Regions from separate parts of the Homo sapiens genome. Here region 1 is linked to region 2. Evidence: promoter capture Hi-C in 16 types of primary human blood cells and fetal thymus (Javierre and others, 2016). All regions are on one chromosome and are shown on one strand. The core of a region is centred on a gene start or on the middle of the fragment in contact, and the rest is flanking DNA. Distances in the headings are between cores, read along the strand shown. Region 1 holds the start of KRT2 (keratin 2). Region 2 holds the start of KRT84 (keratin 84).

Region 1 (6,913 bases), core at 4,388-6,887, 260 kb before region 2:
AGAAGCATTTAGGATCTTGGACTTGCTGGCAGTTTGTTGAAAGAAAAAGTGGGGAACAGGAAGAAGGATTTTGTTCTATAGGATTCCTGTTCTCTTCTCAGAGACAGTGAAGCTTAACACTCTTTGCAGCAATAGCTCGATGTCCTTGTGGGACAGTAGGGATTCAGGATAAATATTCCTATTTTATAGATGAAGAAATTGAGGATACCAGTTGCGTAGAGGCAAAATCACAACCAGACCAAGATTCTTAACTTCCATTTCACTCTCTTAAAGAATGCAAAGCATATTATCTAGGAAAGCACATTGAGATTATGTAAAAGTTGAAAATTTAAAAATATAGAAATAAAATGTTACATAATATTCAAATTGCATTAATTCTAGTCTCCACATTTCAAAAGAGTAGGAGGACTCTTTCAACTTGACTTTCAAAAATTGGTGAATGGGTCTAGAAGGAGAAGATGTTCAGTGGAGAGAGTGGGGAGGGAGACCAGGGTGTGAGGGCAGAATTAAAATGCAGTAAAACATGCAGATTGGGTGCCTAGCACAAATCTGGCTCAATTTCCTTCATAGAGGCATTAAGACCCCCCTGAAGCTGCCATAGTGTGAGCACAGTCATGGTGGAGTAAGGGACGACTAGGGCATTGCTCAGATATCTGTAGATAATGACACATTTTGCTTTGGATTGAGACTGTCTCCAAAGCTGTTAGCTTCATGATTTGTTTGCATGATTATAATTATGCAAACCAGATTGGAAAAAATAATTGAGGAGACATGTAGCTTTGTTTCCTTCAGCATTCTTTTACTGCAAATTAAATACCTTGAATAGTAGTTAAGACAGGATTGGAAACTTGGCGGGGAAGATGCAGAAGGGTGAATAGCATTTATTGAGTTTCTGCTATGAACTAGGAACTGTGTTTAGCACATGTGTGTATTGTTCTGTTTTCACAGTAGCCATATTCTTATTATTCTTGTTCACTTTTTATAGATGAGGAAACTGAGGCTTGAAGAGGATTATGGATTATCTGAGGTCATTTAACTAAGATACAAGAAAATTGGGATTTGACCTCAAACTTATGTTTTTTACATTATTTTGTGATAACTTGGTACTAGGATCTGAACCACCTGGTTCTGTAATTTATGATGCCTGTGGAGAGTGCATGTTCATAGTAGCCAGAAGACAGTAACATGGCAAGGGGGAAAGGAAAAGGAATTATCTTTGTCTCACCCCAAACAATAATGATACTGACATTTTATTGTGCACGGTGGTTTTCAAAACACTTCATACGAATTTCCCATTTTATAGCTGGGACCACAGAGCCTCAGGGTTTCATTCAAGGCCTCACAGCCAATAAATAGCAAAACTGGGACTCAAACCCAGAATTTCTGACTAAATTCAGTTTTATTACTCCAAGAACCTCTCCCACATAGTTGGCCACATGGACAGAGGAAGTGGTTGAGTTTAAGTGTGAGTGCTCTGTGCAGGCTGGATGGTCTTCTTATCCTCAAGCATCTGTGGATGTCATTGAAGAGCCTGACTTCCTAATCACTTCCCAGGATCACCAGGCAATACGTGATTACTGACTGACTGAATCAATATACACTTGGATCTTGGTTTGCAAACTTTCACTTGGTGTCCCGCATCACACAGGTCCAGAAACAGCGAAACTTTTCTCATACCTCTCAACCTCTGGGTGTTCATGTAGACAAGGGACAGTTGATGGTTATACAAACCATCATGGTTATAAAAAATCTCTATTCGGTGCCTAGTTATTGTGTATTTTTGGTGTGGCATGGGAAGAAAAGAGCCAAGATATTTTGAAAATCGACACCTCTTTTGCAGTATCCGAGGCCAATTACTTTCTGTAAGAGGAGGTCGATTTCCAATTAGCATTTAAGGTCATTTAAGACCTTTGCAGTCTCCCCTGCACTAGTTGGGGCTCTTTCTGGGAAAGAGGGAAACTACAAGAGAACTACAAGGCTGGCATTGAGGGGCTCTTGCAGTCTCTAAACCCACCATCCCTTTCATTGTTGAACTGGGGTGGTGAGCCTGCACAAGCATGGGTGGTAGCTGACTTCCCTTGGGCAGGTCCAGAACAGGGAGCAGCATTCTGCAGAAGGTCCTTTTCCAGATTGAGAAACCCAAACCCTGATCTCCTCTTTTGATGATTTTACAAAAATCAAATTGCATGACAGATGCCCAGATAAACAGAAGTTTGCAATCAAAGCAAGTTCTGGGATGGAGCTGATTAGTAGATTTTTAATGGCTATTAGCTTGATAATCACGCACCAGGAATAGCTCCCAGGCAGACCAAACCCACGTATAAGTGGATCCACACCCATGTACACAACACCTAGTTGGCAGGTATATAAGGGGACCCTGAAAGCCTCCCAGCAGCACAGTTGAGTCTCCAGCCTTGACTCTTCTCAAGAGCCTGTGACTTTCCTCCCTGGACAAAGGCATCATGAGTTGTCAGATCTCTTGCAAATCTCGAGGAAGAGGAGGAGGTGGAGGAGGATTCCGGGGCTTCAGCAGCGGCTCAGCTGTGGTGTCTGGTGGAAGCCGGAGATCAACTTCCAGCTTCTCCTGCTTGAGCCGCCATGGTGGTGGTGGCGGGGGCTTCGGTGGAGGCGGCTTTGGCAGTCGGAGTCTTGTTGGCCTTGGAGGGACCAAGAGCATCTCCATTAGTGTGGCTGGAGGAGGTGGTGGCTTTGGCGCCGCTGGTGGATTTGGTGGCAGAGGAGGTGGTTTTGGAGGCGGCAGCAGCTTTGGAGGTGGCAGCGGCTTCAGTGGTGGTGGTTTCGGTGGAGGCGGCTTTGGTGGAGGCCGCTTTGGAGGTTTTGGGGGCCCTGGTGGTGTTGGAGGTTTAGGGGGTCCTGGTGGCTTTGGGCCTGGAGGATACCCTGGTGGCATCCACGAAGTCTCTGTCAACCAGAGCCTCCTGCAGCCTCTCAACGTGAAAGTTGACCCAGAGATCCAGAATGTGAAGGCCCAAGAGCGTGAGCAGATCAAAACTCTCAACAACAAATTTGCCTCCTTCATTGACAAGGTGACTCTGGAGAAGACGGCTCCCACTGATGCTCAGGCCACTTCACTTCCAGAGCCAACCAAAAAGAAAATGGCACAGATTTGTATTTCTTAGGAGCCAGTGGTGTACCGCAGTAGCCTGGGTCATTTGCGGTTTCCAGATGGAAAAGACGCCAGCTTTGTGGGTTACATTTCCCATAACAGCCTGCACTTAGGAAGCATTTGTCCCTTTGACCTTATTGTTACAGTCCATATAAATAATATTTATGGAAAATTCTGAAAACCATAAAAAATGGATATAGGCAAGTATTGAACTGATCCTTGGGACAGGCCACTGGAGCAGCAGGTTTTGGAAGCCATCGTCTTCTGAGATAGTGTTTCCTTCCTTAGCAGTGATTACTAAACTCTGGGAAGCTGAACCTGAAATATCTGCTTGGGAATGCAGGAAATTCCTGCCTTCAAGAGAAGCGTTCTCAGTTTTGTGATCCATAAAGTCTTTATTGGTGTCACTTCGGAGTGTTACTGGCTTTTCTCCTATTTCAAGGCAGACGAACCTGTCTTGGTTTATCTGCCTTGAAATAGGCAGGGATTTACAAGGCTCTTAAAAATCAGGCTGAGGAGCCCTGCCCTCTGGGACTCTCATACTCAGCACCCTTGCGAGCAGTGCCAGCAGATGGCTGCTTTCGGTTTTCCCCAGAATTTATGGGATCTTGGCTGGAAATTCAACCAGGATGCGGGGAGGGAAATGGTCTAGAGTATTGGGAGCAGCTGCAAACAAACCAGTGAGCAGTGAAGCAGCAAAGAGTCTCCTCTGCGTGGAGAGAGCCGGATGTAGCATTAGGAGTCTGTGGGACTTTCCAGGGGCGAAAGCAGGGAGCTCAGAAGCTCTGCCAGTCATGACTCGGCATCCAGCCTCAGACACTTCTCGAGGTCCTGAAGCAGCACCTGAGCTGCCCCTGGCCAGCGTGGCTTGCTTGGTGTGAAGGATGATCTAGAACTCATGTGCTCTCCTTCTGGTCATGGCAGGTGCGGTTCTTGGAGCAGCAGAACCAGGTGTTACAGACCAAATGGGAGCTGCTACAACAAATGAATGTTGGCACCCGCCCCATCAACCTGGAGCCCATCTTCCAGGGGTATATCGACAGCCTCAAGAGATATCTGGATGGGCTCACTGCAGAAAGAACATCACAGAATTCAGAGCTGAATAACATGCAGGATCTTGTGGAGGATTATAAGAAGAAGTAGGTGGCAGAGTGAAACGCTGAGTGGAGATAAACATTGCACTGAGCCATTTGATCACTCCCTGGAAAGCCATTCATCTCCCAGTTGCATTTGTGGTGGTAATGGGGAGAGGCATATGTATCTTTGTTGATTATTTGTGAGGAAGACAGTGAGACTTTAGAGATCATTTTTGTCTTTTGTATGTTTGAGAGTTAGTTTATAAAAATATATCTTTAGTTTGGAAATCTTAGTTTCAATTTAGATATTTAAAAAGTGTGTAATATTCCCAGAGAATGGGGCATTTGGGGTGAATCCAGTATAAAAGGAAAAGAAAAAAAATGAAGGGGAACTAATCTAACTGCTGTAACATCTGTGTCCCAATAGGTATGAGGATGAAATCAATAAGCGCACAGCTGCTGAGAATGATTTTGTGACGCTTAAAAAGGTGAGCGAGAGAATGTCTTGGCTGGGGGTGGGGATAGGAGTGCTTCACAGCCCCATTGTGTCTAAGCAGCCAGTTTGGAAATCAACTGTGAGTGCAAAAGCAGCAGCCAGAGAAAGGAGTGAGACCCATGGCACATTCTCTTGCAAACAAAATTGTCTCTGTAGGTCAAGCTTCTGGATACAGTTTTCAAAGCTGTTCTGCATTTTTGGTAGAGTGCTTCCCAGTAGTAACCCACTTAAAGCCTCTACTGAATCATGATAAATGCAAACACAAAAATCTCTTTGTATTCTCCTTCTAAAGAGCTGAGGAAGGAATGGGACTTCCCTTAGAATGCCTGCTTAAAGTTGCTGTTGGTTGTGCTGACAAAGGTTTGAGGTTGTAGGCCAAAAGCAAGGGTTCTCCTGCTGGGTCCTGCAGGGCCTTTGGTGTATATTCTGGGGAAATTTCGGAGAGGTGAGATGGACAGACGGGATGAGAGAGCTGAGGACTGTGGAAACCCACAAAGAACATCGTATCCTGTTGTAGAAACACACAGTGTCTCAAGCAGGAGAGAGGGGCTGGTTGGCAAAGCTTGGTCATCTCGAGGCTCTGATGGTCCTGAGGGCTGTGAGCCATGGACGTAGGCATGAAGTCCCTGGCAGAGGTGTATGGTAAACTGCACGACAAAAGAAGTCCCATGGGGACAGGGATCAGGTTGGGGAGCCTGGGATTTTAGAGAGGAGCCAGCAGGGACTGAGTAGAGGGGAGTGGCAGAGAGAGGAAGAGGCCTGTACAGGGAACCATACACCAGAGGCCTCAACCTTTCTTGCAGGACGTGGACAATGCCTACATGATAAAGGTGGAGTTGCAGTCCAAGGTGGACCTGCTGAACCAGGAAATTGAGTTTCTGAAAGTTCTCTATGATGCGGTAAGGAGGCTGCTCCGGGACAGTCCCTTACTTCCCACCCTTCTCACCAAATGAAAGTCCTTTCTGCTTGGTGAAAAAGTGGCAGAAGTGGGGTTTATGGACCAGCTGACTTCAATCTGCCATCATTCCAGGCCACTGGGGGGGCTTTCATAGCATAGGTCTTGTGGGTGAGGAATTTTCTCCTCCGATGTTATGGGAATAAGGTTCAGGAAACACCAGGACAGCTTCCCCTCCCTCCATTCCCCAGATGTCCATTTCCCCTGGGGAAGAGACAAGCCCTGTGCCCATTCCTGTGCCTACTGTACTTCAGAGGTCAAAATGCATTTGTCTCCTATCCCCCTCCCCAACCCAAGGGTGCACAGATGATTTCTGAAACAGGAAGTCCATTTAAGGTATTTGCCATGGACAAGCTTCTGTCTGGGGGCACTTACCATAACTGGCTTAAGTGCTGAATGTTAACTAGGAGGCTCAGAAATACAGGTGCCTCTCACTACAATTCTCAGGACAACCTTGGGAGAGGCCCAGGAGTAGACGGTTACATGATTTTCATCCCACCTAGTGTATGCTTAGTCTGAGGGTCTGCGTTTCCCTTATGCTGGGAGACAGAGGCCTCCTGTCTGCCTGTAGCTATGGCAGGATGTCATGACCAGACCTTCCTGTGTGTTGTAGGAGATATCCCAGATACATCAGAGTGTCACTGACACCAACGTCATCCTCTCCATGGACAACAGCCGCAACCTGGACTTGGATAGCATCATCGCCGAGGTCAAGGCCCAGTATGAGGAGATCGCCCAGAGGAGCAAGGAAGAAGCGGAGGCCCTGTACCACAGCAAGGCAAGTAGAGGGAATGTAGGAAGAGCCACAGCTCCCTGCCATGAGCTGGGTTGCACCCCCAGCTGGAAAGTGTACAGTAAGGTTATTGGTTTTTTGTTTAATGGTAGTTGGGCACCATTCCCAAGAAAGGATGTTGAGAATGGCACCAAGTCCTTTTGGGCATGTGAGACAGTCCCTACCTCTCATGAATGCAGCCATGACATTTAGCTGGGTTGACCCTCCCTGGACCAGTAACCAGCTCTCCTTCACTCCAGTCAGTCTGGAATGTGAGCCAGGCTGGAACTTCCTTGCAAACTGTCCTCTTCTCCCCATATCAGTATGAGGAGCTCCAGGTGACTGTCGGGAGACATGGAGACAGCCTGAAAGAGATCAAGATAGAGATCAGCGAGCTGAACCGCGTGATCCAGAGGCTGCAGGGGGAGATCGCACATGTGAAGAAGCAGGTGAGGCCCAGCCCTGTCCAGCGAGGGGCGGGAGGTTG
Region 2 (6,531 bases), core at 3,566-6,065:
GGAGCAACATTTTCACTCTGGACAGGTGACAACCATGTGGGCCATGTGAGACATCGCATTAAACCTGAAAAAACCATCCTTCCTGGAAGAAGTGAGAGGGGTGGGTAGAAAACAAGAAGGGGGTGCTTTATCTTCCGTGGGGAGGCGTGTTCATTCATCTGAGAGGGGAGAGAGGAGGAGGTACTGGCAAGGGTGGACCTAGCCTCTCACACACACCCCCTGCCCCCCGACCCCCACCCCTGCTGGGGGGACTCTGAAGCTTCCTTTCCCAGCAGGAGCAGGTCTTAGCATGAAAACTTCTCCAGCCAGTGCCTCTCTCCAGCACAAACTCGTCCCCAGGCTAAACAGAAGCCCTCTGAAGCCTTCTCAGAATCTGGGCTTCCCCTGTCATCCCCTTTCCCACACACACACCCAGCCACAGTGCAAACAGCGTTCCCAGAACCTGCATGGCCAACCAGGATGTCCCCCTCCCTCAGGCAGCCCTTCCCCTCCCTTTCCTCTGCTCAGCGTTTCTGCCTCCTCCCTGCTCCACAGATAGGATCCTGATGACCCAGCAGCCAGGCATGGTAATGCAGCCACGGAGCCTGGGCTCAGCCCGCAAGTCTCTGGAGTTACACTCAGGCTGACTGACAACAGCAAGAAGAAACTGTTGCAGCAGCAAAACCTCCTACCCAAAGTTGCCAGGGCAACTCCGCCCCCTCTCCCCACCTGCCACCCCCTAAAAAATGACTGAGGGTTGTGTTATGCATCGTCTGGCGAAATAATGCCTCCAAACTGCAAACTGCTGATGGTGACAGTTCATCACAGAGCAGGGACTATGCTTGACTGGTCCCAATTACAATTACCCCCACCCCACCCAGCCTGATCAGGGTTGAGGGAAGCTGGGACATGGGACAGGAATGGCTAATGGGGTATGAATGCATCTGCCATGGGAGCAGGAAGGAGGCGGGTGTGGATGGGAACAGGGATGACTGTGTAGAAGTGAAGGGAGGATTGTGCAAAACAGAGAAGAAAAGGGAGGAAGGGAGGGAGGAAAGAGCCAGGGAAAGGAATGGAGTACAGTAGCAGCTGCCAGGCACTGCACAGTGCACATCCCAGGCACTTCCTAGTCAATCCTCATCATACTATGAAACAGGGAATATTCCATATTAACATGAGGAAACTGAGGCTTAGAGGTTAAACAATTTCCCCAAGGTCATTGGTATACCATAGGGGTGGAAGGGACTACTACCATTATTTAGAATGGCCAATGCATGCTGAAAATTGTTAATAAGCTGATTGGTTGGTTTTAAAGTTCTCTGCAGAAAAGTTCCCCTAGTGCCTGCACCTGCAGCAGAACCTGGCCACCACCCTGCCCTTGGTATAGCACTATCCAAGATCATACTGCTAGTCGGTGACAAATCTGAGTTTCACCCAGGTCCATCTGACTCTAAAATTGATATCATCTTCTGGGTCCCCACCAGGGTTCTCTAGGCAGGCCATCCCTCCCACTCCCTTCCCCTTTCACCTCCACCAGACAGCCTCTGGTCCCCCTGCCCCAATCTCCTGGAACCCCTCGCCTGGCCTCAGAGGAGTGGGATGCCCTTTCGTTCAAGCAGCCTGGCTCAAACCCCAAGAGGCTGGAACTGGGGGACAAACTGGATTGGTTCTCCTTTGAGCTCTTGAGTTTCTGCCCCACCGTCCCCTCCTGGGCCATTCCTGTCCATTTGGGAACTTGGAGTCTCTTTTTCCCGAAATATCTGCAAAATCAAATGCCCAAATTCCTGTTCTTCATACTTCCTATTTCTTTCTCCTCCTGCTTTTAATCTTCACAGCCTCTTCCATTCACTCAACGAAACTATACAGAATGCCCACCATGTGCCCCACTCTGAGTCCTGGGGACCCCTCAGAGAGCAAAATGCACAGCAGTGTCTGCCTCCTAAAGCTTTGCTCCAGCCAGTACAAGTCAACGACAACAACAGGCAAATCCACCCAAGAAGAGGACCTCAGATGGCTGTAAATGCTAAGGCGACAAGGAAGCGGGGCAGGTGTACAGGGAGGACAGGGAGTTTCCAATAGAAGCTAAGAGGATGACATATGAACAAAGCCCTGGAAGAGTTGAGGGACCCAGCCATACAGCTATTTGAGGAAAAAGGTTCCCAGCAGAGAAAACAGCAAGGGGGTAAGCATTCGAGGCAGGAGTCATTCTGCCTGTTTGATGGACAGCCAGGATGCTCAAGTGGCTGCAACAGAGTGGGCAGCGGGACAGGTGGAGGGGATGAGGTCAGGGAAGAGGGAGGCACACTGCATAGTGTCTTACAGGGCATTGACTCTGAATGGGTGGGAAACCATGGGAGGAGTTTCGGCATGGAAATGGCATGATCTGACATGTTTTTAAAGGATCACTCTGTGCTGCTAAGAAAAGCCTGAAGGGGCAAGGGAGGAAGCTGGGAGACCAGCTGGGAGTGTAGTTCAGAAGATCCTGTGGGAAGAGATGGGCCTGGGCCAGCATGGGAGCAGCAGGATGGTGAGAAGGAGTAGGAGTCTGGATATATTTTGAAGGGAGAATTTGCCAATGAATTGAATGTGGGAAAAGGGAAATAAAAAACAGAGGACAAAAGGATGACTCCAAGATTTCTGGCATGAACTATTGCAGAGATAGTGATGTTGGCAAGTGGAACATATTTAGCAGGAACAATTAGGAGAACAGTTTTGGTCATAAAGTCATCCCTCTGTATCTGTGGCTCCCACCTTTGTGGATTCAACCAACTGCAGATTGAAACTCTTAAAAAAATTGCATCTGTGCTGAACAAGTACGGACTTTTTTCTTGTCAATAAAGTATAACAACTATTTACATAGCATTTACATTGTATTAGGTATTATAATCCAGTGATGATTTCAAGTATACAGAAGGATGTGTGTGGGTTACATGCAAATACTACACCATTGTATATCGGAGGCTCGACGAACATCCATGGATTTTGGTATCCACAAGGGGTCCTGGAACCAACTACCTGGGGATACCAAGGGACAACTGTATTAAGTTTGAGATGCCTATCTGATATCCAAATAGAGATGTTGGTTAAAATATATGTGTGGCGTTTAGGGGTAGGGAGGTCTGGGATAGAGTTGTGCCTTGGCAGTCATGAATGAACAGATGGTATTTAAAGTCCTGAGTCTGTATAATATCACCAAGGCAATGAGTCTAAAGAAGAGAATAGATACCCAAGGATTGAGCCAGGGACTCTGCAGTGTCTAGAGGTTGGGGATATGAGGAGGAACTGGCTTAGAAGACTGAAAAGAGTGTGGCAAGAAATCGAGAGAGTGTAGTGTCCGAAAATCAAAAGAAGAGCGTGTTTCAAGAGAAAGGGCATGGTCAGCTATGTGAAGAAAGTGAGAACTGAGGACAGACCATTGAATTTAACATGGAGGCCACTGGTGGTCTTGACGAGAAGTATGCACTTCTTATTGTTTTTCTGCTTCATTTCCCCCTTAGACATACAGCTGATAGCTGGAAAAAGAAAATACCGCACAAATGAGCTGGATGCTTCTGGTCAAAAGCATACATCCCCTTCCAAGTGGAATTGCAAGCATCCCAAAGAATCTCAAGCGTCCAGTCAAACATGAGTTCCCCTGGGCAAAGGATGCACTAGAATAGAAAAGGTAAACACCAGCCTGGCTCAGGGTCCTAAAAGAGCTGCAATATTGCTAACAATGATAATATTCAGCTGCTGAGAACTTTTCCTTTTCTATCCAGATGTATATTGCTTTGTGTCTCTCTATCCTAACCAAAGATTCATCAATAATTCAAGGAACCTAAATGGACAGGCCCATAAATCACACCTATGGTATATTTGGGGGCTAAAAATCATGTAGTTAGCTTTCTATACAGAAACTTTCCAATGCTTTGGCCTCAAATCATGCCACAAAGTGTTGACTGCTGGAAATCCTCAAGATAAATGTTCTGCTGGGCATGGTGGTGGATGCCTGTAGTCCCAGCTATCTGGGAGGCGGAGGCGGGAGGATCACTTGAGCCCAGGAGTTCAAGACCAGCCTGGGCAACTAGATCATGTCTCTAAAAAAAAAAAAAAAATTTAAGATAAATCTTCCCCTACTACCATGAAGATAGAGACTGTCTTTGTAATCTCTGTACCCTCAGCAGCAAGCACACTGCTGGATACATAGCAGGCACTCTAAAACTGTAGAATGAATGAATATCTCTGAGTGTCTCAAATCACAGATGTGTCTACACTAGCCCAAATGAGCTTTACTGTAGATTCAACTCTTGTATACTAAACAGCCATATTGGATAAAACATGGCAGAAGGTTTTTTGATGATTTAATTGATTTGCAGAAATGCAACAAACTGTATTTTCTCCATATCACTTCTTACTTGGAGATGTGCACACACTCCCACCTCTTTAGGGGGTTATATCTTCATGGATGCATCCCATGTGAGCCTCTTGCTGGAGCTGTCGCCATCCTAACTTTCTGGTGGTTAGCCACACTCACAGTGAAAAAACCTATTGCATTTATGACCAAAGCAAATTAATGTCCCCTTAATGGCAATTGTGGTAGACTTATAGGGAAAAAAAAGACTATAATGTTTATATGTTTATGTGTTTTTAATGTTTATTGGTTTGCTGTTACAGCCCTCATCCCAATGAGACTAGGTGTGTCTGAGTTAACTCATTGTCAAGGAGGTTATAGGCATGCAGAGTTTCTGCTAACTACCCAAGCTCATAAATGCCTGCAAATGGATTTTTTCATTTTTATGGGGCCAAGCCTCAGATCACCACACACATAAAAGGGGTGCAAGGGTTCCACTGGCCTCAGAGGGACTCCCAGCTCCAGCTCACCCATTCTACACTTGCTCTTTTGCTCCCAACCAGGAAGCCATCATGTCTTGCCGCTCCTACCGAGTCAGCTCTGGTCACCGGGTGGGCAACTTCAGCTCTTGTTCAGCAATGACACCACAGAACCTGAATCGCTTCCGGGCCAACTCTGTCTCCTGTTGGAGTGGGCCTGGATTCCGGGGCCTTGGCAGCTTTGGTAGTCGGAGTGTCATCACCTTTGGATCGTACTCACCCCGGATAGCAGCTGTAGGCTCTCGGCCCATCCACTGTGGAGTCCGCTTTGGTGCTGGCTGTGGGATGGGTTTTGGTGATGGGAGAGGTGTTGGTCTGGGGCCTAGGGCTGACAGCTGTGTTGGTCTGGGCTTTGGAGCTGGCAGTGGCATTGGCTATGGCTTTGGTGGCCCTGGCTTTGGTTACAGAGTTGGAGGGGTTGGAGTCCCAGCAGCCCCATCTATCACAGCTGTGACTGTGAACAAGAGCCTACTGACCCCCCTCAACCTGGAGATTGACCCCAATGCCCAGAGGGTGAAGAAGGATGAGAAGGAGCAAATCAAGACCCTCAACAACAAGTTTGCCTCCTTCATTGACAAGGTACCTATGATAGCTGAATCTCTGGGTCTAGGAATATTACAGCCAAAATGCGCTAGAGTGCTCTTTCCCTTAAAAAGAACTGGCCCGGTTCTGGGGACTTGACCTTGACCTCAGATCTTTCAAGTGCCTACCTCAGGCATTGTGGTATGCTTTATGGGTTGCTCTGCTGCAGAGCAAGGCCAAGCCAGAGGACGAGCTGCATGGTGGGATAGATTCCGACAGTGTTGATATCTTCTGGAGGACAGAGGAGCATCCAGCCAAACTCGAGGGCATCTCGACAAACTAAGATGTTGCATCTGGTCACTTAGAAATGTCTCTGAAACAGGCTGGAAACACTGGGACTTTAGCCAGGTGTTGGCTGGTATATGCTTAAGAGGTTTTATTCTTTGAGATCCTTTTGTTCCTTATGAAGTTTTCATAGTTTCTGAGGCTGAGTGGCCTCATCTATTCAGGCTTAGAAAAGTAGAGAATGGAGTTGAGTAATTAAAAAAAGAAGAAGAATTCATACCCCCACATGGGGTATCAAAATTCGGCCAAGTTGCCTAGATTCAGGGAAATTGCAGGGAATGACCACTGGTAGTCACTGGCTTCCAGGCAGATGAGTGGGAACAGTGATGTGGATAACCCAAAAGAACTGACATCCCACACACCATGTCTATGTGGAGATGGAATGGTTATGTCTGAGAATGAAGGATAACCTCTGTAAGTTTTGGGTTCTTCCTCTCTAAAATGAGGGGCTGGGGTAAAGGGTCTGTAAGTTCTCTTCCAGCTCTACACATAGCCAATGGAATATCTGCGATGTTGGATAGGACTTACAATCTGAGAATTCCTACCTCCCAGTACCATATCCCACCCCAAATGTAGTTTACTCTGCTCCCCATTCTCTGCCAGGGATGCCTGGCATCAGTTTTCAGATATAGGCAAACCAGAGCTTAAATAGAATCAACCCTTCCAACTTCCTGATGTACCAGTGTACAGCTTTCTTAGAGACTGGATAGGGGAATGGTACTGAAGTGCTATGGTTCAAAACCCCATATTGGTAACTAGGCCTAGCCGAGCACAAGGAGGGAGTCACAACCTGCCCTTCCAGCTTCTGCTGAGTTA

The links. Contacts are between HindIII fragments. The CHiCAGO score rates a contact against its expected background, and 5 or more counts as called.
Region 1: a contact is called between a fragment that was not itself captured here and the fragment with the promoter of KRT84 in region 2, in 1 of 17 cell types (endothelial precursors). The highest score is 5.9, in endothelial precursors.

The regions. Positions count from the first base shown.
Region 1 is chr12:52,647,692-52,654,604 of GRCh38, reverse strand. It overlaps KRT2 (keratin 2), which reads left to right and starts at 2,394. Exons shown (of 9, transcript NM_000423.3): 1 at 2,394-3,047; 2 at 4,052-4,266; 3 at 4,631-4,691; 4 at 5,503-5,598; 5 at 6,268-6,432; 6 at 6,750-6,875. The coding sequence starts at 2,463. The HindIII fragment of the contact is 747 bases long and covers 5,264-6,010 here.
Region 2 is chr12:52,383,936-52,390,466 of GRCh38, reverse strand. KRT84 (keratin 84) reads left to right here and starts at 4,815. Exons shown (of 9, transcript NM_033045.4): 1 at 4,815-5,427. The coding sequence starts at 4,882. The HindIII fragment of the contact is 9,508 bases long and covers 1,927-6,531 here.